Regions from separate parts of the Homo sapiens genome. Here regions 2 and 3 are each linked to region 1. Evidence: promoter capture Hi-C in human tissues and cell types (Jung and others, 2019). All regions are on one chromosome and are shown on one strand. Each heading gives the region's core, a stretch centred on a gene start or on the middle of the fragment in contact. The rest is flanking DNA. Distances are from core to core; before and after follow the strand shown. Region 1 holds the start of C12orf43 (chromosome 12 open reading frame 43). Region 2 overlaps SPPL3 (signal peptide peptidase like 3). Region 3 overlaps SPPL3 (signal peptide peptidase like 3).

The links. The method cuts DNA at HindIII sites, captures the fragments that hold promoters and counts their contacts. A contact is called where the count stands out against the background at its distance.
Region 2: a fragment that was not itself captured here is called in contact with the fragment with the promoter of C12orf43 in region 1 in 1 of the 25 tissues and cell types used here (aorta).
Region 3: a contact is called between a fragment that was not itself captured here and the fragment with the promoter of C12orf43 in region 1, in 1 of the 25 tissues and cell types used here (mesenchymal stem cells).

Annotation. Positions count from the first base shown.
Region 1 is chr12:121,013,994-121,019,123 of GRCh38, forward strand. C12orf43 (chromosome 12 open reading frame 43) reads right to left here and starts at 2,494. Exons shown (of 6, transcript NM_022895.3): 1 at 2,337-2,494. The coding sequence starts at 2,481. It overlaps OASL (2'-5'-oligoadenylate synthetase like), which reads right to left. Exons shown (of 6, transcript NM_003733.4): 6 at 5,118-5,130. RefSeq lists enhancers at 1,673-2,188, 2,160-2,669 and a silencer at 2,397-2,590. The HindIII fragment of the contact is 5,444 bases long and covers 1-4,197 here.
Region 2 is chr12:120,821,268-120,826,397 of GRCh38, forward strand. The region is part of intron 1 of SPPL3 (signal peptide peptidase like 3); the gene reads right to left. Among named protein-coding and RNA genes, the nearest start is that of SPPL3, 81 kb to the right of the region's middle. RefSeq lists an enhancer at 1,621-1,690. The HindIII fragment of the contact is 3,166 bases long and covers 1,301-4,466 here.
Region 3 is chr12:120,880,556-120,885,685 of GRCh38, forward strand. All of the region lies in intron 1 of SPPL3 (signal peptide peptidase like 3), which reads right to left. Among named protein-coding and RNA genes, the nearest start is that of SPPL3, 21 kb to the right of the region's middle. The HindIII fragment of the contact is 4,130 bases long and covers 746-4,875 here.

The DNA of each region.
Region 1 (5,130 bases), core at 1,244-3,743:
AAATTCTCAACTCCTGGTGGCTATTACTAGACGCACTCAAGAATGTAATCTAGGCTGGGTGTGGTGGCTCATGCCTGTAATCTCAGCACTTTGGGAGGCCAAGGTGGGCGGATCACCTGAGGTCATAAGTTCGAGACCAGCCTGGCCAACACGGTGAAACCCTGTCTCTAATAAAAATATAAAAAAAAATTAGCTGGGCCTGGTGGTGGGCACCTGTAATCCCAGCTACTTAGGAGGCTGAGGCAGGAGAATTGCTTGAGCTTGGGAGGCGGAGGTTGCAGGGAGCCAAGATCGCGCCATTGCACTCCAGCCTTGGTAACAGAGCGAGACTGCGTCTCAAAAAGAAAAAAAGAGACCAGGCGCGGTGGCTCACACCTGTAATCCCAGCACTTTGGAAGGCCGAGGCAGGTGGATTGCCTGAGGTCTGGAGTTTGAGACCAGCCTGGCCAACACGGTGAAACCCTGTCTGTACTAAAAATACAAAAAATTAGCTGGGCGTGGTGGCAGGCGCCTGTAATCCCAGCTACTAGGGAGGCTGAGGCAGGAGAATCACTTGAACCCAGGAGGCAGAGGTTGCAGTGAGCTGAGATCGTGCCATTGCACTGCAGCCTGGGCAACAAGAGTGAAACTCCATCTCAAAAAAAAAAAATGCAAAAAAAAAAAAAAAACCCCAAAAAACAAACAAACAAACAAAAAAAACTAGAAGCCGAGCACAGTGGCTCACACCTGTAATCTCAGCACTTTGAAGGTTGAGAAGGGAGGATCACTTGAGCCCAGGAGTTCGAGACCAGCCTGGGCAACATGGCAAAACCCCATCTCTACAAAAAATACAAAAAGTAGCTGGGACTATACATCTGTAGTCTCAGCTACTTGGGAGGCTGAGGTGGGAGGATCATCTGAGTAGGGGGAGGTCGAGGTTGCAGTGAGCCATGATTGTGTCAGCCTCGGTAACAGACTGAGTCCTAGTTTTGAAAAAAAAAAGAGCGAGAATTAGGCAGGAGGAGGAAAGCAGTCCATGTGGAAAGACCAACCACATATTTGCCACCATGTATTGGGCCTTTAAGATGTGCCAAGCACTGTAGATTGCATTATCTCAGTTACTTCTCAACCTTATGGGGTGGGTACTATCACTACCCGCACTGTACAGATGAGGAAATTTAGGTACAGTGAGATTTAAGTACTTTGCTCAAGTTCCCACCGCTAATGAGATGGAAAGGCAGATCTGTAAATAGAACTTGCAGAGAAAACTGTGGTTATGGTACTAGGGGGTGAGAGGGGCAGACTATGGTCTGGAAGCTACCTACAGGAAGTGCAGTATGGCAGGAGGGAAGGAAGGGAGAGGAAGGCAATGGATCACCAAAGGGCTTGTAAGTCCTTTTAAACAAATCCAGCGGTTCTTAACCTTGCTTTGCCATAGCCTTCTCTAACAGCCTGGTGAAGCCCGGTTCTCTTCTCAGAGCAATGTTTTAAATGCATGAAATGCAACATACAGGATTACAAAGAAAACCAATGATACCGAAATTTAATTATCATGATAGTAAACAACCAAACTTGTGATGTATGTGCTTCTTACATCTTAGATATAGAGATGGGTCTAAAAATTAGAGTGGCACATTTTAAATCAGGGATGAGTGTAAATGACTTTTTTCCCCAATATCTTTTTATCAATAAAATGATATATTGATATCTGTATCTGCAAAGATTGTAATGAGATATGAAAATCTGTGACTTCTGTTGGGATAAAGTAACGGCATTGCCAGAACTACTGTGGCTTAGTGCTTGCAAGACGGAAAGAGATGCTAAAATTCAGTCAGAGATGAATAGAAAGCAAAGATGCAACATGTTTTCATTCCAAATTCAAGAACCCTTGGGTTCTATCCATGATTAGGCCCCTTGATGTTGCGGGGCTCTGTATTTATTCCCAGGGCACTAGGGAGTCACGGTCAGAGTGATGTGCTGGGCACTGCTCTTGGCAACAACCTCCAGGGTGGGAGAATGTGTTGGAGGTGGGGAAAGGCTGGGTGCGAGAATACCGGGAGGGGGCTGTTGCAGTTATCTCGAAGAGACGGCAGCCTTCCCAGTGTGGGGCAGTGAGGATAGACCCAAGGAGGCAGAATCAAAAGACATTTGGGTACCTCAGCTTCCCCGACTGGAATAATGAAATACCCTCCCTACTGCACCTGCCCATGCTTTCAATCTGCACTACACCCAGTCCCTGGAGGTCTCTCGGGGAAGGAAGCCGAGTCCCAGTGACTCTCTCCTCACCATCCATCCTCTCAGGCTCCAGGGGAAGATCCCACGCCCCTCAGCCAGTCTCCCCAAACATAGTACCCTACCGGCTCTTGGCTTCCCTGCCACGTGCGGGCGTTGCTCCAAGCCCCAAGCCGGCATTGCCGCCTCGCGGCACCGCTCCAGCTCCTCCGCATCGCTACTGCTGTTACTACTTTCCGAATCGCTCACTGTGCCACTGGGCGCCGCCATCTTGAACCACCGCAAAGGATTGTGGAGAACACCGCCGTTATCAAGCCTCCTTCATGACGTCACGTGAGAGGAGAGGCGCGAGGCATTGTGGGGATTGTAGTTCCAAGACTTGGACCGCCATTGGCCATGAACTGTACTGGGTTGGGGATACCAGGTGGGAATGGGGAGGTGGGCGGTTCTCAAAGGCAAGAGCTAGAAGGGCCTAAGAGATTAACTTCTCCAATCATTTCTTGATGACAGATCTCCAGAGGGGATGGGAATCTCCTAAGGAGTTAATGACAGACCCAGGATTAGTTCCCAGGTTTTGATTCCATGTCATTTATTCTAGTAATTTCCCAGTCCAGCTGGGCCTAAGAAACACCTTAGAGAGCTGGTTAAACTGCAGACTTTTGGGTCTCACAGAAAATACTAACAGAATCAGAATCTCTGATAGGTGGAATCCAGGAATCTGTATTTCCTTTAATAGCCTAGGGCCTTACTACTTAAGAGTGTAGTCCATGAGCCAGCAGCATTGGTAACACCTGGGAGCTCGTTAGAAATGCAGAATCCAGGCTGGGCACGGTGGCTCACGCCTGTAATCCCAACACTTTGGGGGGCTGAGGCAGGCAGATCACAAGGTCAGGAGTTCGAGACCAGCCTGGCCAACATAGTGAAACCCCATCTCTACTAAAAATACAAAAATTAGCTGGGCATGGTGGCACGCACCTGTAGTCCCAGCTACTCAGGAGGCTGAGGCAGGAAAATCACTTGAACCTGGGAGGTGGAGGTTGAGGTGAGCCAAGATCGTGCCACTGCACTCCAGCCTGGGCAACAGACTGAGACTCTGTCTCGAAAAAAAAAAAAGAGAAATGCAGAATCCTGTCCGGGCACGGTGGCTCACATCTGTAATCCCAACACTTTGTGAGGCCGAGGCGGGCAGATCATGAGGTCAGGAGTTCGAGACTAGCCTGACCAACATGGTGAAACCCCATCTCTACTAAAAATACAAAAATTAGCCAGGCAATACTGACTCCCAGGACCCATCCAAGACCAAAAAATTAGAATCTCTGTGGTTAAAATACCTCACAGTGAAGGATGAACAAAATCACTTTACTTTTGTGTGTGGAATGCTGTTTCATGTTTTATCTTTGAAGACAGGTATGTCAAAACTTTACTAAAATAAACTCTCTGGCCTTGAGCTTTTTCTATTTCAAAGAAGAGGAAGGTGACTGATATGGTCTGAATGTGTTCCTCCAAAATTCATATGTTAAAATTGACACCATAAAATAAATAACAGAGAGACTGACTCTCCAAAATAAAGCGTTTATTCCAGAATTGCAAGGAATTGCAATTTGAGATATGCATGCTATAGTGGACTATAGGCACATTAAAAGAGGTTGTGGCAACGAGAAAAGACAAAGTCCACATAAGCTTCTTTAAAACAAGTACCGTTGATCACAGGAGCCTGTTGCAGGAGTTGGCTTTAGCTTATTGTGGAGACACCCACTGTTAGGCAAATATTCTTATGCAAGTGGTTTATCTATAATACTGCGGATTTTAGGAACTTCTTGAGATAATTTTTGTGACAGGCATTTGTTAGGGTTTGACATAAGTGACTCCATTTTGATACTGATAATTTCCAAAAAGTCCTTACTCCCAAGGTGATGGTATTAGGAGGTGGGACCTCTGGGAAGTAATTAGTGAAAGGGTCTTGTGTTGGTTCGAACCCCAAGAGCGTGGCCAACAGACAACATGAGGCAGTGTGTGTGCAGGTGGGCTGAGGCTTAAAATGGCGTCAGCACCAAATGAGGACGGGGCAGGGGTTTTGTAGTCTCCTGTAAACAGGAAGTTTCTCAGTCTGTTGTAACCGCTACATTGTACCCGGATGACGTCTCTCTCGGTCTTCAGGGGGTAGGTGTCTTCTGGCCCGCTCTCTTCCCGCTTCTGCTATCTTGCTGACACATGCTGCTGGCGCGAGTGGCCTTGCGCCTTGGGACCGGGCCCAAGGAGGGAGGGGAGGGAGGGGTCATTCATTCTCTTAAGCTTTCAGGCCCCACGGAGAATCTTTCAATTACATAATGGGTCCTGAGCCCTCATGAACTGGATCAATGCCTTCATAAAAGAGACCCCAGAGGCCAGGCATGGTGGCTCACAACTGTAATCCCAGCACTGTGGGAGGCCAAGACAGGTGGATCACAAGGTCAGGAGTTCGAGACTAGCCTGGCCAAGATGGTGAAACCCCGTCTCTACTAAAAATAAAAAAAAAATTAGCTGGGCACAGTGGTAGGTGCCTGTAGTCCCAGCTACTCGGGAGGCTGAGGCAGGAGAATCGCTTGAACCTCGGAGGCAGAGGTTGCAGGGAGCTGAGATCATGCCAATGCACTCTAGCCTGGGTGACAGAGCGAGACTCCATCTCAAAAAAAAAAAAAAAAAAAAAAAGAAGCGATCCTAGAGACACCTTTGCCTCTTCTACCATGTGAAGACTTAGTGAGAAGCTGCCATCTGTGAATCAGGAAGAGGTCCTCACCAGACACCAAATCTGCCAGTGTCTTGACTTGGACTTCCCAGCCTCCAGAGCTGTAAGAAATAAATGGTTATTGTTCATGAGCCATCCAGTGTATGGTATTTTGTTTTAGCAGCCCAGATGGACTAAGACATTGCATTTTTCAT
Region 2 (5,130 bases), core at 1,634-4,133, 190 kb before region 1:
TTTTTCCTATGAATTATCCTCTAAGACAGGTCCTCACATCATAGTTTCCAAAGCATGCGCTTTTGATTGTGACTTGCGCACACAACCAGCAACACACTGTGGTTCCTGTGTTCAACACTGCAGCCGGAAACAGCCCTGGGCTGGCTGCAGCAAACATAAGGCAAGGGAAAGAAATTAGGCAACTGGTTTCCTCGGACAAAGCCAATAGGTACAAGCTGGATAAAGCAGTTTTGCATTTTTATTTGGCCAAGGGACTTATTTACAGAAAAAAAAAATTATAATACAGCTTTTGAAGGTATCTTTGTATCATGATCCAAGACTGCTTTAGAACTTGTACAAAATAAATCTCCTTAAAAACTTGCAAAAATCTATGTTAACATGCTGGTTGAAATTACTATTTCATAAGAAAAATGCTACTGGATATCTAAATACCCTCTCAGGATATGTGCTCATAAAACTTACTAAAGCCTAGGTATTTGCCCCAAATAACTGAAAGCAGGGACTCAAACATACTTGTACACCAATTTTCACAATGGCTGGGCCGTGAATAATGGGTTGGGTTGGGTGGAAGTAACCCAAGTGTCTATCGGTGAATGAATGGATAAATAAATTGTGGTACAGCCATCCAATCAAATATTATTCATCCTTAAAAAAGAAGAAAATTCTGATACATGCTACAACATAAATCAACTTCAAAAACATGATGCTATGTGAAATAAACCAGAAAAAAGAGACAAATATTGTTATGACTCAACTTATATGACAGACCTAGATTAGGCAAATTCATAGAAAAAGAAAGCAGAATAGCGGATACCAGGACTGGAGAGAAAGGGAATGGGGAGTTTTTGTTTGATGCATACAGAGTTTCTGTTTGGGATGATGAAAAAGGTCTGGAAATGAATAGTGGTGACTGTTGCACAAAACATAAGTGAACGTACTTAATGTTACTGAACTGTACACTTAGAAAAAGTTCAATGGTAAATTTCAAATTGTATGTTATGTATATTTTACAATAACAACTTTTATAAAACTTAAGGAAAATTTTAAAAACTGCTCTTAACCTCTAAAAGAACTGGTTTTTACTGTATCTGTTTCATTAAAAGATTATTCCCTGCCATTTAATGCTGATAATAGTTTTAGAAATGATTCTAGAAACGAAGTCTTAAAAGCATCCCTACAATTCCAAAATCTAACTTCAAGAAGAAAATTTCCAGTGACTTTTAAAAATGAATGCTACAGATTGACATTTAGTTATTTCCTGGGGGCTAACCTCTCCTAGTGACAAATTCTGTGGACAAGCAAACAGGAGCCTAAGAGTTTAAATCACAGTTCATCCCTTACTTCTATCAGGACAAACTAGGGTTTCTGTCTGGGATGATGAAAAAATTGAAGAAGGAAAGTCTCTTGAGCCCCAGAGCAAGGAGGGATTAGACAGACTGAATTTCAGTAGCAAATCTCCAATGACCCTGGGGGCACACTTCTACCTGCATATACCACGGTCACCTCAAATTCAACACATCTAAAAATCAAACCAAATCTCTCCATCATCTTGCAGTATCTAATGTCTGTTACAAGCTCCAACTAGAATAAATACCTCTGGTCACTGTTCTGTCCTATCTTATGTATCACCACATGCATGAGGACTCTGCTAGGTACTAGCACTCCATGATAAAGACTCAGCCCCTACCACCCACCAAGAATTGCCTAACAGGGAGACAAAAAGAAGTAAACAGGTTGCCAAATTAAACAGACAGGTGTAGGAACTCAGCATGGAGGCCTATGTGACAGTGCGACCTGCTGGGAGTTCACAAAGTAGTCAAGCAGTTCAGTTGGGCTAGAGAGGAGAGAGCAAGAGTGAGTGATCATGCGTGCAAGAGACAAAAAGCAAGAGCTAGAGCATATTCCCACAAAGGTGTCTGTGAGAGACGGAGAGTGTGTGTGTGGGGGTGGGGGGTGGGGGGGCGGCGGCGGTGGCGGGGAGGACAGAGAACAAAAGGAAGAAAGGCCAGTTCACATAGGGCTACCAAAGCTAGGGATCTGGCTGTATTTGCCGTCTTCACTGGTATCTCCTTGTCACACTGTGCCTTCTATCCCCAGCACTCCATGGAATTTGCTCTCCCCAAGATCATCAACAATCTTGTTGTTACTTAATCTAGTAACACTTCAGTCAATATCTTACTTGATATCCCCGCTCCCCTTGCAGGATCTGACAACAGTAGCCACTTCCTTTTCTTGAAACAATTTTATCCCAGCTCCCACGACATCCTACTGGATTTCTTCCCTGCTCTCTGGCTCCGTATTTTCTCCTTCTCCTCTGCCCATCAGGGCTCTGTCATCAGTTCTCTTTACTTCTTACTCCACATCTCATCTCTGGGTGATACTGTCTACTCTCATGCCTTTGGTTATCATCTATATAGGCTGATGATTCCCTTTTCCAAGTTGTAACAGCAATCTTTTACTGAGTCATGTGCCCAGCACTGTCCTAAGAGCTTCCCATTATGATCCCCATTTTGTACAGATGAAAAAACAGAAACATAGTGGGGTGAATTAACCTATTTGTTTTACTATAGTCATTGTGTTTTATATAATTCACTCTATCACAAAGACATTTTTTTTTTTTTGAGACGGAGTCTCACTCTGTCGCCCAGGCTGGAGTGCAGTGGCGCAATCTCAGCTCACTGCAAGCTCCGCCTCCCGGGTTCACACCATTCTCCTGCCTCAGCCTCCCAAGTAGCTGGGACTACAGGCGCCCGCCACCAAGCCCAGCTAATTTTTTCTATTTTTAGTAGAGATGGGGTTTCACGGTGTTAGCCAGGATGGTCTCGATCTCCTGACCTTGTGATTTGCCCGCCTCAGCCTCCCAAAGTGCTAGGATTATAGGCGTGAGCCACTGCACCCAGCCCACAAAGAAATTTAAAAGAATGGCACGAAGAATTGTTAGGAAGAAGCAAGCTGAAGACCTACGTATCACATAAAACCACTTTTATTAAAAATGGGACTATTTCACATTTCTGTATTATTTGAGTTTTTAAAATAACACTAAAATTTTTTTTTAATGGAACACAGGATTCTGGTGGAAACGTTAGCAAAAAAGACAAAAAAGTGTTAGTGATGTCTGATTTGGCTATATTTTTCACTTATACTAAATACTAAAAGCTTGTGTTCTTCAGTCGGATATAGAATTTAACAAGTAATACTACAGAGTAAGTTCTATAGCAGAATTTAATTTTCAAAGAGCCCAATTTAAATACAATGGTTTTCTTAAACTTTTATTTTTTCTGAGACAAGGTCTCACTCTGTCACCCAGGCCGGAGTGTAGTGGCATGATCACGGCTCACTGCAGCCTTGACCTCCTTGGGCTCAGGTGATCCTCTCATGTCAGCCTCCTAAGTAGCTGGGGAGACAGGCGCATGCCACCACATCAGGCTAATTTTTTTTGTTTGCAATTTTTGTAGAGATGGGGTTTTGCCATATTACCCAAGCTGGTCTTGAACTCCTAGACTCAAGTGATCCTTCAGCATTGGCCTCCCAACTTGCTGGGATTACAAGCGTGAAGCTGCCTGGCCTTCTTAAACTTTTGACACTGTTTTTCACACAGAAAAGAGTAACAAACTTCCATGCCCTATTCATTTGAAAAGACAATTTAAAAACACTTAAGTAGCTACTGTAACAACATATTTCTAGAAAGCTTAACTGCAGATGGAATGGAACAAATGTTAAAGGGTAAACATGCCCCCCACCCCCAGTCCCTTTCTCATAGTGTGCCCTTCCTTATATGACACTACCTTAAGTCTACTGGATAGTCATTATATTTATAACACAAATGGAATCTTAATTACTAACACCTTAAACTCATTTAAAAAAAAAGGACAGATCCAAACTTACATAATGTCAGTTTGATCCAGAACAATGTTCACAAATTTTAATTCATTAAATCCAAAATAATAAAGTTTTACTAAATTAATAATTGAAAAACTATATAATCCAGCCAATTATTTAGTTTGAAAAAACAAGCCTGACACACTAAAAAGGAAATTATGGCAAAAGCAGCCCCAATTCAGTTAACTGAATTTGTTATCAAACAGACCTGATGTATTCAGAGAAAAATTTTTCTGTGAGTTAGGAAACACTAAAGAGCATCTGTTTATTGAGCACCTGAAAGGAGTTTGGCTTGGTAGAGAGAAAAGAGAGTGGAGGTGAGAAAACAAATCCCAAAAGAATAAAGGTCATGATCTTAACTCTCTAGTAACAGGGCACATGTACACAGGAATATCAACAGGAGCAAATATCGCTTGTCTTACGGAAGAATGGAATTCCAGAGAGACTCACTGCAAGATCAGCTTCTGTTTACAGAGGGGTTAAATTATGGTGTACTTGAAGTCAAGGTTTGTTAGCAGGATTTTAGCTGCTGGAGTTTTAACGTCACCTGAAAACATTGCTTTTATTCAACTAGTAGAGTAAAAATCATAAGAGTCTATAATATTTTTGGAAAATCAGTCAGGCAGAAATATTCAGTGTAGATAAATTGGGCAGAAGAGACTAGAATCAAGGAGACCAAGTAAGATTCTTATGATAATCTAAGCATGAGGTGATCAAGTCTAGGTTAGTACGAAGTGGAAAGAGGAGGTGCTATAGTCACAAACTATATTTTGAAAGAAGAACTAATGGGACCTCTCTTTGTCCAGGGTGTCTATCTCTGGTGACACACTCACTGGTCAAGAGAATGAAAGCAGGGCAAGAGTTAGGACGGGCGCAGTGGCTCACGCCTGTAATCCCAGCACTTTGGGAGGCTGAGACAGGAGGATTACCTGAGGTTGGGAGTTCGAGACCAGCCTGACCAACATGGAGAAACCCTGTCTCTACTAAAAATACAAAATTAGCCGGGCATGGTGGCACATGTCTGTAATCCCCGCTACTCAGGAGGCTGAGGAAGGAGAATCGCTTGAACCTGGGAGGCAGAGGTGGCGGTGAGCTGAGATTGCACCATTGCACTCCAGCCTGGGCAACAAGATTGAAACTGTCTCCAAAAAAAAAAAAAAAAAAAGAAAGCAGGGCAAGAGTCAAAATTTCCATGGGTTATGACAAACTCAAACCTAGACCTACCTGCCTTGCCCTCTAACAGTGCTGGAT
Region 3 (5,130 bases), core at 1,561-4,060, 130 kb before region 1:
AAGTGTGCAGATCATGAGGTCAGGAGATGGAGACCATCCTGGCTAACACGGTGAAACCCATCTCTACTAAAAATACAAAAAATTAGCTGAGCATGGTGGCACGTGCCTCCAGTCCCAGCTACTCGGGAGGCTGAGGCAGGAGAATCGCTTGAACCCGGAAGGCAGAGGTTGCAGTGAGCCGAGATCACACCACTGCACTCTAGCCTGGGCGACAGAGAGAGACTCCGTCTCGGGGGAAAAAAAAATTATTTGCAAATCATATAACTGATAAGGGATTGATATCCAGAATATACTAATAACTACAGCTCAACAACAATCAACCCAGCCAAAAAAAAAAATGGACAAAGGACGTGAATAAACACTACTCCAAAGATACACAAATGGTCAATAAACGTGAACAGATGCTCAGCATCACTAATCACTAGAGAAATATAAATCAAAATCACAATGAGATACCACTTCATACCCATTAGGATGGCTATTGAAAGAAAACACACACACACACAAAATTCAACTAGTGTTGGCAAGGATGTGGAAAAACTGAAACCCTTATACATTGCTGGTGGGAATGTAAAATTTGGCAGTCACTATGGAAAATGGTAATGGTGGATCCTCAAAAAATTAAAATGTTGCCCAGGTGCGGTGGCTCCCGCCTGTAATCCCAGCACTTTGGGAGGCCGAGGCGGGAGGATCATCTGAGGTCAGGAATTCAAGACTAGCCTAACCAACATGGTGAAACCCTGTTGCTACTAAAAATACAAAAATTAGCTGGGCGTGTTGGTGTGTGCCTGTAATCCCAGCTACTTGGGAGGCTGAGGCAGGAGAATCACTTGAACCAGGAGGCAGAGGTTGCAGTGAGCCAAGACAGCGCCACAGAACTCCAGCCTGGGCAAAAGAGTGAGACTGCCTCAAAAAAAAAAAAAAAAAAAGAGAAGAGAAGAGAAGGAAAAAAATTAAATGTTGAATTGCCATACGAGATTGAGCAATCCCACTTCTAGGTTTATATCCAAAAGAACTGAAAGCAGGGTCTCGAACAGATATTTGTACACCAATATTCATTGTATTACTCATAGTAACTAAAAGGTGGAAGCAACTACTGCCCATCAACAAATGAACAGATACACAAAATGTGGTCTTACCCATACAGTCAAGTATTATCCAGCCTTTAAAAGGAAGAAAATTCTGACACACGCTAAATATAGATGAAGCTCGGGGGGCATTACTCTAAGTGAAAAAGCCAATAACAAAAAAAAAAAGAAACAAAATATTGTTAGATTCCATTTATATGAGGTACCTAGCATAGTCAAATTCACAGAGACAGAAAGGAGAACAAAGGTTGCCAGGGTGTGGGGAGAGAGGGGAATGAGGAGTTAAAAGTTTAATGGGTACAGTAGTTCCGATTAAACTTATCTATGGTTTCACCTTCCATGCAGTCAACCGTGGTCTGAAAATATTAAATGGAAATTTCCAGAAAAAAGTCGTAAGTTTTAAAGTGTGGACCATTCTGAGTAGTATGATGAAGTCTCATGCCATCCTGCTCCCTCCTGCCTGGGATGTCACTCATCCCTCTGTCTACCATCTTCATGCTATATACATACACTACCCCTACCCACCAGTTTGACATTTGATAACCATCTTGGTTATCAGATTGAATAAACAGTATATACAGGGTTCAGTACTATCGGCAGTTTCAAGGTATCCACTGGGAGTCTTGGGATGTGGATAAGAGGGGACTACTGTATACAGTGTCAATCTGGGAAGATTAAAAAGTTCTGGAAATGGATGGTGGTGAAGGTTGCACAATAATGTGCATGTACTTAATGCCACTGAGTTCAGTGACACTTAAAATGGTCAATTTTATGCTATGTGTATTTTACTGCAATATAACAGGGGTACTGCATAGGACTTTGTATACACATGTGTTTTCATGCACACATTTCTAGAAAGATAGAAAGAAAACTGGTTATAAGCTTTCTTGAGACAGGGCAACTGGAAGATCAGGAATAAAAGTGATATAATAAAAACTAGAGAGATTGAATACAGTGGTCTCCTATGTATCCACAAAAACTGATTATATATTAAATGGTATCAAAAGACATTCAAGATATATTTAATTTTAAAAAGCATATAACAAAACACTATTTACCATTTTAACATTACTTTCATAAACACACATACAAAAACAATCTCCACCTGGGCACAGTGGCTTATATCTGTAAACCCAGTGCTGTGGGAAGCCAAGGCGAAAGATTGCTTGAGGCTAGGAGTTCAAGGTTACAGTTAACTATGATGGCACCACTGCACTCCAGCCTGGGCAACAGAGCTAGACCCTGGCTTTTTAAAACCAATCACAGAGGTAATGCTAGAGATCGTTGAGGAAAGCAGGGACTATTTTATCAACATATAGTTCTGGGACAATTGGATTCCTAACTAATCCATACACAGATATATAAAACTTAATTCTAGAGGCCGGGCGTGGTGGCTCACAACTGTAATCCCAGCACTTTGGGAGGCTGAGGCAGGCAGATCACGAGGTCAGGAGATCAAGACCATCCTGGCTAACACGGCGAAACCCCGTCTCTACTAAAAATACAAAAAAATTAGCCAGGCGTGGTGGCGGGCACCTGTAATCCCAGCTATTCAGGAAGCTGAGGCAGGAGAATGGCATGAACCTGGCAGGCAGAGCTTGCAGTGAGCCGAGATCGCACCACTGCACTCCAGCCTGGGCGACAGAGCAAGACTCCCGTCTCAAAAAACAAACAAACAAACAAAAAACAAACTTAATTCTAGATGGATTAAAAACTTCTATGTGAAAGGCAAAGCTTGAACTCTAACCTATTCCTATTTAGAGGAACATATAGGAGACTATCTTCAAGACTTCAGGCTAGAGAAGAATTTCTTAGGACACAAAAAGCACTCACCATAAAAGATAATGGTAGATTCTACTCCCAGGTATATAAACCCTAAGAAAACTCTGAAACATAAATACCAGGAAAATATACAAGAATGTTCACAAGACTCCTCTGAAATAGCCTCAAACTGGAAACTAAATATTTATCAGAACAGATAAATAATGTGATTATATATTCACAGGATGGAACATTATACAGCACTGGAAAGGAATGCAACAACTGGGACAAATCTTAGAAAAAATATTGACTGAAAAAAACAAATTATAAAAGACAATATATGTCATCTTTATAAACTTATTTAAAAAAGCAAAACAAAACATGTTGTACAGTAAAACATTAAAATGTAGACGTAAGCCGGGCGTGGTGGCTCATGCCTGTAATACCAACACTTTGGGAGGCCAAGGTGGGTGGATCACCTGAGGTTGGGAGTTCAAGACCAGCCTGATCAACATGGAGAAACCCTGTCTCTATTAAAAATACAAAATTAGCCGGGCGTGGTGGCGCATGCCTCTAATCCCAGCTACTCAGGAGGCTGAGGCAGGCGAATCGCTTGAACCCAGGAGGCGGAGGTTGTGGTGAGCTGAGATCACGCTACTGCACTCCAGCGTGGGCAACAACAGCGAAACTATGTCTCAAAAAAAAAAAAAAAAAAATGCAGATGTAAATCTAGTTTTTTTAAAAAGCAAAGGGATGGTAAACAAAATTCACGACAGTGGTTACACCTAAACGGGGACAGGGGACAGAGGCATGAGGAAGGACAAAGGAGAGTACAAAGGGGGCTTCCAGAACATTGGTAATCCTATAGTTTCTTTAACTGGTGAAGTTCATGAGCGTTCATTATGCTACACATACAAATCATATATTCTTCTGTAGACATTAAATATCACATAAAAATGAAAGCACAGTATAAACCTGTTCCTGCTTTTGTGTAAAAAATGATCTACAGTTCCTATATGTAATGCCCAAAAGGGTAACATGAAATGTTACCATAAATTTTCTAAGTAAGTTAAATATTAGGTAATTAGGATTTTTCTTTTTTTACTTCTATTTGGGATTTCTGGGTTTCAACAACTTGTATAATTTAAAAAAAAAAAAAAACCAACTGTCACAATATATGGATTTTTTTTAAACCTGAAAGATATGCAACAAATTTAATGAAAGATCTCTCTGTGTTGGTAGAATTGTGGGTAGTTTTTCTATTCTTTTTGTGTTTATCTACACTTTTCAATATTTTCACCAATAAAATATGGTATTACAGTTTCATAATTCCTTATCTGACACCCTTATGGCTGGAGATGTTTCAAAATTATGGCTAGAGTTTTTTTGGGTTTTTTTTTTGGGTTTTTTTTTTTTTTTGGCTTTCAGAAAGGTAACAATGGTGTGTGAAGTGGGTGACAAGTCACACCTATTCAATAAATAGATACTAGAAATAACTTCAGTTAAGGTCTTGTTTTGTTACCAAAGAGGTCTAAACCAGATTTTATCCCCTAAAGGAATGGCATTATTTAGTGTAAGTAAGGCTTCCAATTCCGCCCCTACTGGTCCAACTAATTTGGAGCTTAATCACTGCAGACTGCACTCAGTTGGGAACAAACAAAAAAACCCTTATATTAATACTTTGTAATACCAACAAATCAAAGCATTTCAAACTCAACTAAAAGACATTTCTTTCTTAGTAAGGCTAAGGCTTTCAGACACATTTCAAAAATGAAGCTAATGAACAAGTGTCAAAGTATAAAATATTTGGAAATTATCAAAATAATAATGTATACAAAAACTCAACAGAACCACCAAATAAACTGATTAAAAAGATAGTACCACTTACGGTGTTCTTTAATTCCATAATTGTGCACGGGACCTACAACACATAAGTATTTCACATGGCCTTCAAATTCAAACAAATCAGTGAACTCACAAATGGGCCCTGGGTCCATATTATCACAAATGCCAGGGTATAGCATGTAAATTAAGTCATGATCGTTGTTCTCTTGGTCAGAATACCATTTATGGACTCCAACTCAAAAGCATGTGAGTACCACTTAGAATAACTACATGTCCTTAAGGCATCTAATAGTCAGTAATAATGCAATGGTCAAATCCTGTTAAAGTATTTGTATCTAAACATGCAAGTGCCCATAAAAAGTTGTTTTTTTAATCCTCTGTCACTGGAGCACTGATCAGCTATCCCTATCTTCAACCATCCTTGAGGCAATGACCT